Linked DNA regions of Homo sapiens: all the other regions are linked to region 3. Evidence: promoter capture Hi-C in 16 types of primary human blood cells and fetal thymus (Javierre and others, 2016). All regions are on one chromosome and are shown on one strand. The core of a region is centred on a gene start or on the middle of the fragment in contact, and the rest is flanking DNA. Distances in the headings are between cores, read along the strand shown. Region 1 holds the start of RNF113B (ring finger protein 113B). Region 2 holds the start of SLC15A1 (solute carrier family 15 member 1). Region 3 holds the start of FARP1-AS1 (FARP1 antisense RNA 1).

What was found. Contacts are between HindIII fragments. The CHiCAGO score rates a contact against its expected background, and 5 or more counts as called.
Region 1: the fragment with the promoter of RNF113B here is called in contact with the fragment with the promoter of FARP1-AS1 in region 3 in 2 of 17 cell types (erythroblasts and endothelial precursors); the score reaches 6.6 in erythroblasts.
Region 2: a contact is called between the fragment with the promoter of SLC15A1 here and the fragment with the promoter of FARP1-AS1 in region 3, in 9 of 17 cell types (activated CD4 T cells, M0 macrophages, erythroblasts and 6 more). The highest score is 10.8, in activated CD4 T cells.

What each region holds. Positions count from the first base shown.
Region 1 is chr13:98,175,877-98,178,576 of GRCh38, reverse strand. RNF113B (ring finger protein 113B) reads left to right here and starts at 1,308. Exons shown (of 2, transcript NM_178861.5): 1 at 1,308-2,295; 2 at 2,401-2,700. The coding sequence starts at 1,341. The coding sequence ends at 2,414. The region is part of intron 1 of FARP1 (FERM, ARH/RhoGEF and pleckstrin domain protein 1); the gene reads right to left. The HindIII fragment of the contact is 1,058 bases long and covers 1,224-2,281 here.
Region 2 is chr13:98,751,266-98,754,069 of GRCh38, reverse strand. It overlaps SLC15A1 (solute carrier family 15 member 1), which reads left to right and starts at 1,398. Exons shown (of 23, transcript NM_005073.4): 1 at 1,398-1,475. The coding sequence starts at 1,472. The HindIII fragment of the contact is 4,199 bases long and covers 79-2,804 here.
Region 3 is chr13:98,434,569-98,437,268 of GRCh38, reverse strand. FARP1-AS1 (FARP1 antisense RNA 1) reads left to right here and starts at 1,429. Exons shown (of 2, transcript NR_046595.1): 1 at 1,429-1,497; 2 at 1,611-1,864. FARP1 (FERM, ARH/RhoGEF and pleckstrin domain protein 1) reads right to left here. Exons shown (of 27, transcript NM_005766.4): 19 at 1,563-1,693. The HindIII fragment of the contact is 3,650 bases long and covers 1-2,640 here.

The DNA.
Region 1 (2,700 bases), core at 59-2,558, 260 kb after region 3:
GAATCCATTTACATTATATAAATGAATTATTTCACAACTTGAAGATAAACTCAAGAAAAAAAAGGGTTAAAAATATTTGAAGGCGGGGTGCAGTGGCTCACGCCTGTAATACCAACATTTTAGGAGGCCAAGGTGGGTGGATCACCTGAGGTCAGGAGTTCCACACCAGCCTGGCCAACATGGTGAAACCCTGTCGCTACTAAAAACACAGAAGTTAGCTGGGTGTGGTGGCACACACCTGTAATCCCAGCTACTCAGGAGGCTGAGGCAGGAGAATTGCTTGAACCCGGGAGGCAGAGGTTGCAGTGAGCCGGGATCATGTAACTGCACTCCAGCCTGGGCGACAGAGCGAGACTCTTTCTCAAAAAAAAAAAAAAAAAAAAAAAATTAAAAATGATTATCTTAGGTACCAGGAATTGGCGTGTGGAGGGGCCAGGCAGGGGACAGCCAATTTCCATTACAATAAGTGCTTGATAATATTTTTTTAAATGTTTACATGTGTTACTTTTATTTCAAAATGAAAGCCAGCTACACACCCACAGGTGCAGTGTGATATGACAGTCTTTTAATAAAGGCTATATTAAAAGAATAGACACAAAAGTGTTGACAGTGGTTATCTTTGAGGGGAGGGATTATAGGCGTCTTACTTTTTGCTTGTATCTGTTTTTGTTTTCTGCACTGCGCGTGTGTTGCTTTTAAATACGCATTTCAAGCGCCTGTGTTTTAGGATGAGCACCACCGGTTCGCTATGGCCTGGAATGATTCCACCCGTGGCCTTTTAGGAATCTGTTGAAAAATGAGTGTGCACTGAGGGAGCTGAGGAGCAAGTGAAGATGACTCTCTCAAGGAATCCATCTGAGGGCCAGGAGGCAGGTCAAGGGAGGGAAGGGCGGGAGAAGCCTTTTTTTTTGGTTTTTTTTTTTTTAATTTGAGACAGGGTCTCGCTCTGTCACCCAGGCTAGAGTACAGTGGCGTGATCTCGGCTCACTACAACCTCTGCCTCCTGGGTTCAAGCGATTCTTCTGCCTCAGCCTCCCTAGTAGCTGGGACTTCAGGCGCACGCCACCACACCCAGGTAATTTTTGTATTTTTAGTAAGGATGGAGTTTCGCTATGTTGGCCAGGCTGGTCTTAAACTGCTGACCTCGGGTGATTCTCCCACCTCGGCCTCCCAGTGTCCCGGGATTACAAGAGTGAGTCACCGCGCCTGGCCTAGCAGAAGCTTTTCTTTCACTTGCTTTTGCTTTTTAGAACTGGGAGGGCCCACGCCCCACGTGCAGCGACGCAAGGGCGACGCAAGGGTGACGCACGCCACGGCCGTTGGGAGCCTGAGACTCAAACATGGCAGCGCCACCTTCTCCAGGAAGGACGGCCGACCAAGCAGACCAGGTATGCACCTTCCTCTTCAAAAAGCCTGGACGGAAAGGGGCTGCAGGCCTCAGAAAGCGCCCGGCCTGCGACCCCGAGCACGGAGAGAGCAGCAGCAGCGGGGACGAGGGCGACACAGTGGCTCAGCCCCCGCGGGTGGCACCGAGGCCCCGGGGCCTCCACAGCTGGCAGAAGGCGGCTCACGGCGACAGGAGGGGCGAGGAGGCGGCGCCTGAGAGCCTCGACGTGGTGTACAGGTCCACCCGCTCGGCGAAGCCTGTGGGGCCAGAGGACATGGGGGCCACCGCTGACTTCGAGCAGGACACCGAGAAGGAGCACCATACGCCGACCATCCTCAAGTGCAGCCAGCGGGTCCAGGAGGCACTGCGGGGTCGGGAGCACGACCACATCTACCGGGGAATCCACAGCTACCTGAGGTACCTGAAGCCCAAGGACACGTCCATGGGCAACTCCTCCTCGGGGATGGCGAGGAAGGGCCCCATACGTGCGCCAGGGCATCTGCGCGCCACTGTGCGCTGGGATTACCAGCCTGACATCTGCAAGGACTACAAGGAGACTGGCTTCTGTGGCTTCGGGGACAGCTGCAAATTCCTCCACGACCGTTCCGATTACAAGCTCGGGTGGGAGATTGAACGGGAGCTTGAAGAGGGTCGCTACTGTATCTGCGAGGACGAAAACCATGAAGTGGGAAGCGAGGAAGAGGAAATACCATTCAGGTGTTTCATATGTCGCCAGGCCTTCCAAAACCCAGTCGTCACCAAGTGCAGGCATTATTTCTGCGAGAGCTGCGCGCTGGAGCACTTCCGGGCCACCCCGCGCTGCTACATCTGTGACCAGCCAACCGGCGGCATCTTTAACCCCGCCAAAGAACTGATGGCGAAACTGCAAAAGCTTCAGGCTGCAGAAGGTGGGGGCAAGTCCCATTTCACAGAAGACCCCCATGAGTGTCCAATTCCCATGGCTTAGGTTTCCCATAATTCTCACATTTAAATAAATTTTTTTGTTCTTTTAGGAAAAAAGAGATAAGAAAGACTCAAGTCTGTATGTACACTGGGGAGAAGCAGCCTGTTGAGTAAGATGAGAGAGATGACAGTCTTCCTGCAATCCCATGCCTGAGTATGTAACCAAAAGAATTGAAATCCGGATCTCAAAGAGGTATGTGCACTCCCATGTTCACTGCAGAATTATTTGCAAAAGCCAAGAGGTGTAAACAACCCAAGTGTCCATGGATGGATGAATGGACAAACAAAATGCGATACACACACACAATGGAATGCTATTAAGCCTTAACGGGAAGGAAATCCTTTTAAAG
Region 2 (2,804 bases), core at 149-2,648, 320 kb before region 3:
GTAGATTGCAAACATTTTCTCCCATTCTGTAGGTTGCCTGTTCACTCTGATGGTAGTTTCTTTTGCTGTGCAGAAGCTTTTTAGTTTAATTAGGTCCCATTTGTCTATTTTGGCTTTTGTTGCCATTGCTCTTGGTGTTTTAGACATGAAGTCCTTGCCCATGCCTATGTCCTGAATGGTATTGCCTAGGTTTTCTTCTAGGGTTTTTATGATTTTAGGTCTTACATTTAAGTCTTTAATCCATCTTGAATTAATTTTTGTATAAGGTGTAAGGAAGGGATTCAGTTTCAGCTTTCTACATATGGCTAGCCAGTTTTCCCAGCACCATTTATTAAATAGGGAATCCATTTCCCATGGCTTGTTTTTGTCAGGTTTGTCAAAGATCAGATAGTTGTAGATGTGTGGTGTTATTTCTGAGGCCTCTGTTCTGTTCCATTGGTCTATATATCTGTTTTGGTACCAGTGCCATGCTGTTTTGCTTACTGTAGCCTTGTAGTATAGTTTGAAGTCAGGTAGCATGATGCCTCCAGCTTTGTTCTTTTTGCTTAGGATTGTCTTGGCTATGGGGGCTCTTTTTTGGTTCCGTATGAACTTTAAAGTAGTTTTTTCCAATTCTGCGAAGAAAGGCATTGGTAGCTTGATGGGCATAGCATTGAATCTATAAATTACCTTGAGCAGTATGACTATTTTCACGATATTGATTCCTCCTATCCATGAGCATAGAATATTCTTCCATTTGGTTGTGTCCTCTTAAAGAAAGGATGATTCTTAAAGAAAGGAAATGTAGAATCCCCCAGAAATGCTTTCAAAGGTTGAATCTCAAAATAAAGCCACACACACACTCTCACACACACTCTCACACACACATCACACATACATTCTCACATGCAAACTATATACATATTCTCACACATGCTCACACTCAATCCTCATTCACACACACACACTCACACACAATCCTCACTCACACCCACACACACATTCTCTCTCACACACACACACACACACACAGCTGACCACTGTCCCACCGTGTTTTGCCTCCCCACCCAGAAGCGTGCGTTCCTCCCACAGTGGTTTCCAAAGTGTCGTTCTGGATCCAGCAGCATCAACCTCCCCTTAGACTTCTTAGAAATGCACATTCTGGGGCCCCAGCCCCGACCTCCTGAGTCAGCTGGCCGGGGGGTGGGGCCTGGGAATCCGCGTTTAGACTGGCTCTCCCCCGGCCTGCCACGCGCTCCCGTCGGGGCCCACCCGCACCTGGGCCGGGGCTGGTGTCCACGCGCGACGGCTCGGGAGCACGGACCTCTGCTCCCCGCAGCACCGCCCCCCGGGTGGAGCCGGCGGCCCCGCCTCGCAGAGCTGGGGCTGTACCTGGGGCAACGGGGCCGGGCCTGGACGTCAGGTCGGAGGAGTAGCACCTGCCAGGAGCACGTCCCGCCGGCAGGTCGCAGGAGCCCTGGGAGCCGCCGCCATGGGTACGCTCGGCGGGTGGGGGGCCGGCCGGGCTAAAGACTCGGAGCTACGCGGGGCGGGGGCCGGCACCGAGGGCCGGGAGGCGCGAAGGGTACGCGGCGGCGGGAAGCGGGGCGACCCGAAGGCCCACGGGGGCCGGGAGGTTGCGGGGCGCCCGGGATCCCCTCCCGGGTGGTCACCGTGCGGCCGGGGCGCGGAAGCCAGAGGTGCCCAGAGGCGCCGACTCCGCCGAGGTTGCGATCCTGGCCCGCCCGCCCGTGGGGCACTGTAATCCTCGTATTCCCACCCTGCGGGCCGGGAGTGCGCTTGGAGCGGGACGGGACCCAGCGGGTGACGGCAGGGGCGGCAGAAACACCGTCTAACTGGCGGAAGCCTTGTGGCTGCCTTTGCACTTGTCTTGCCTCTGGCTGGCGAGGTGACCCTGGAGTTCCGCAGGGAACCCTGGCCCAAGAGGAGATGGGGCCTCTCTTTGTGGCCCCCTCTTAACCCTCTGCACTGTCCCCTGGCTTAATTTGAGGCACCTTCTGTGCCTTACAGAAGGTGAGGAGCTGGCTCTTGATGGGGCTGGAGCGTCAGCAAAACAGCTAGGAGGCAACTTGACTCCTGCCCCGCTTCCGAATTAATCACCCTGGAACTAAGGCAGACCCAGAGAGAATGAACGGAAGCAGAGCCAGAGCTGCTGGGAGCAGCCCAGCCCGCTGCTTTCTTAAAGATGAGGAAGCCCAGTCAGCTTCCCAAAGTTGTGCCATGGATGCCCCCGGCCAGCATTTTGCAGAAGATGTGGCCACGTTGTTGAGGGGGATCTGAGCCTGTAGACAGGAATGTCGGTCGGTGGCTGCCTCAGTGGTCCTGGTGGAGTGATGTGTGTCAGTGCCCAGCCCCAGGGTGCAGCCGTCCTCTGGCTCTCAGAATGCCTGCCGGACACAGCATGTGGTGGTTCCTAAGGAGAAGCAGTGAGTGGTTCACACTTTGGACTTCTAATTGTAGCCAGTTGTGCCTGTTCCAGAAAGACCTGCAACTTCCCTCTCTGGCGGAGACTGTGGCCGAGCTCAGCTCTGCAGGCAGATTCCTGGGCTGCAGTTCTGGGTCCCGCCCTCAAACAAGTCCCACCTGTCACTCTATGCAACTTTGCTGGGAGGTGCTCTGAACTATTTCTGTTGATCATCAAATACCAAATACCTGAGCAGCATCCTTGTTGAGTTGGAATTTATGACCCGTGTTTAGCATTTCCAGCAGATCCAATCCCGAGAGCTGTTAGAGGCAGCTGCCTGGTTATTGGTGAAGGAATACAGAGTTAGATTTGAAGCCTCCTTTCCAAATGAATTGATGCG
Region 3 (2,700 bases), core at 180-2,679:
AGGGGCAAATGATTAAGAAACTTGCCCATCATCACCTGATCGGCCAGTGTGTGATAGAGCAAAATGCTTCCCGTTGTGCTCTGCAATGTAGTTAATGCCACTATTCTATGGCTACCTTTCATCTCTTCAATTAAATGTAGGTGGGGGAAAACGAAGATAATTAATATGTATTATGTCATTTTCACAGAGCAAATCTCATTTGATCTTAATGACCTATGAGGGAGAGGCCATGGTCTCCATGTGCATGGTCCCCCGCCACCCCGGCACTGGTAGAGCGAGACTTTGAACCCAGGGCCACCTCCTCCAATCCAAGGTTCTTTCCATTGCAGTGGAAAACATTTCCTCAAAAAAAGGAATTCTTTATCAGTGGTCTGTTCACCATGTAGCATGAGATGCTAAATATTTTATAACTTTCAAAGCTGAGAGAAAATTACATCGATTCCACAGGGCTTTTCTGAGGGTTCCGTGTGGATGGGTAAATAAGGTCATTAAGTGCCGAGGCCTGGCAGGATCTTGTCACCAGCAGAGCTGAGGCCATCCCAGCTCTAATTTCTGCCAGCGCTTACCGCATGGCTCTTCTGACAATCTCTCACAACGTGGCTTCTGGTCAGTTCTGTAATTAGGCTTCCTGACAGAAATGCTCCAAAACAAGGAGAGCTTCCTTCCCCTGCCCTGAGTTACAGATGTCAAGTTTCCAGGGCAGCTGCTTGTTGGAAAAAGACTAAAAGCCCCTGAGATACTGGATCCTGCAGCAGCAGATCAAAGCAGCTACAGTGAGTTGTCTCTCGACCTGGGTGACGTAGCATTTGAAATGGGGGCGCCACAGGGTAAAGATCCCAGAGAGAGATTTGATGAGACGCAGCAACTGAATGATACGTTTGATTCCTGGGTGATGATGGCTTTCTAGGAAGGGAAGTGGAGAAGGCAGGCTTTGTTCCTGTCCTCCACATTGTCACTGGCCTGGAAGGAGTGTGTGCGGGAAGCCCTGTTGAGTAGGAATCACCTGCATCTCAGGCAGGGGGCTGGGGAGGGGTAGGCGACAGTGTCAGTGAACTTGCATCTCTCCTGGAATTGCTTTCCAGCTAAGATTTGGTATTTTAATTTTGAACTCAAATTAAATTATATATGGAAGATTGAATTTTAAAAAAACACTTCATACCTGCATGGGAATTTCTAGCATAATTTAATGCACTACCTTTCTGGCTTTATTACTATTTACCTAATTTTTTTTTTAATTTTCCATTTTCATTTATGTACATTTAAAAAAAATAAAATAAGCAATCTCAAATCTTCTGTGGGATATGGTAGGGGAAAAGGTAAAGAAGCGAATCACCCCGTAAGGAGAAAAAGCAGAATATGAGGTCAGAGGATTGCTTTATCTCCTCCGAACACAATGATTCTGAACTAACGACACTGTTGTGTTTTTCCAGTTGTCTCCCAGGTGGATGGAAAGAGGACATTTTGCTTTGCAAGGGTCTCTCTTCAAAAGGTTCAAATGTAAGTCCCTCCGATGCCTCCTTTCTGCTCCCCGCGCAGTGCATAGTGAGGCCACTGCTGCTTACCCTTCCCGGAACCACAAGATTGTCAATGCCAATCAAATCTTTCTTGAGTTCGTGCAGCTTCTGGAAATTCTCCATCTTGATCATCGTACCGTGGAGCTGTGCCACCATCTCCGTGATCTCTGCCAAAGCGGCTGTGAAGGAAAGACATACACAGTCTGCAGCGGGAAAGGCAGGCAGGGGTCTTCCCCTAGCAGCTGTCAGCTCAACGCTGCAGGGAAATCACTCCAGTCCCTGCACAGTATTCAAAGGTGTCTTTTGAGCAAAAACAGTGCTATTTCTCTATAATAAAAATTGATGGTGTATTTTCTGTATTTATTTGCTTCACTTTAGCATCTTAAAACTAAGTGACCCCTGCATGGTGACGTGGCATACAGCTGTCCTTCAATTAGACGGACCTGTTGGCTTAGAGGGGAAAGACACGGGGGAAGAAGACTGCCTTGAATTTTGTCCCTGGGTAGAGACTTTTCTTTTCCCTCCTGTTACTCGGAAAGAACAAGGCACAGTGAGCACAAAGAGGCCATAGAAAAATCTGGAGCAAAGTCAGCACCTCCTTGGGAGGAGGTGTAATTGATATTGTGAAGTGTCAGTATATTCCAGGTAACTAACATTCCACCACACCCCAGTTCTGTCTTGTGTGGAAATTACACTGTTTACCAAGATGGTTGTGAAGAATTGCTGTAGAATTCAAATTTTTTCTTTTCTTTTATTTGTTTGAGACAGAGTTTTGCTCTTGTTGCCCAGGCTGGAGTACAATGGCATAATCTCAGCTCACTGCAACCTCTGCCCCCAGGTTCAAGTGATTGTCCTGCCTCAGCCTCCCGAGTAGCTGGGATTACAGGTGCGTGCCACCACGCCCGGCTAATTTTGTATTTTCAGTAGAGACAAGGTTTCACCATGTTGGTTAGGCTGGTCTCGAACTCCTGACCTCAGGCGATCCACACGCCTTGGCCGCCCAAAGTGCTGGGATTACAGGCATGAGCCACCACATCAGGCCTTTATTTTTCGATAGAGGCACGGCTCCCCTATACTGGTGGGCATCCAATATTTAAAAGAAGCTAGTGCCTGATTAATACAAGCTTGGGTGGCACGCAAGTCCCCAGTGGCTGACAAGTTTGGGTGGCACTCAAGTCCCCAGCGG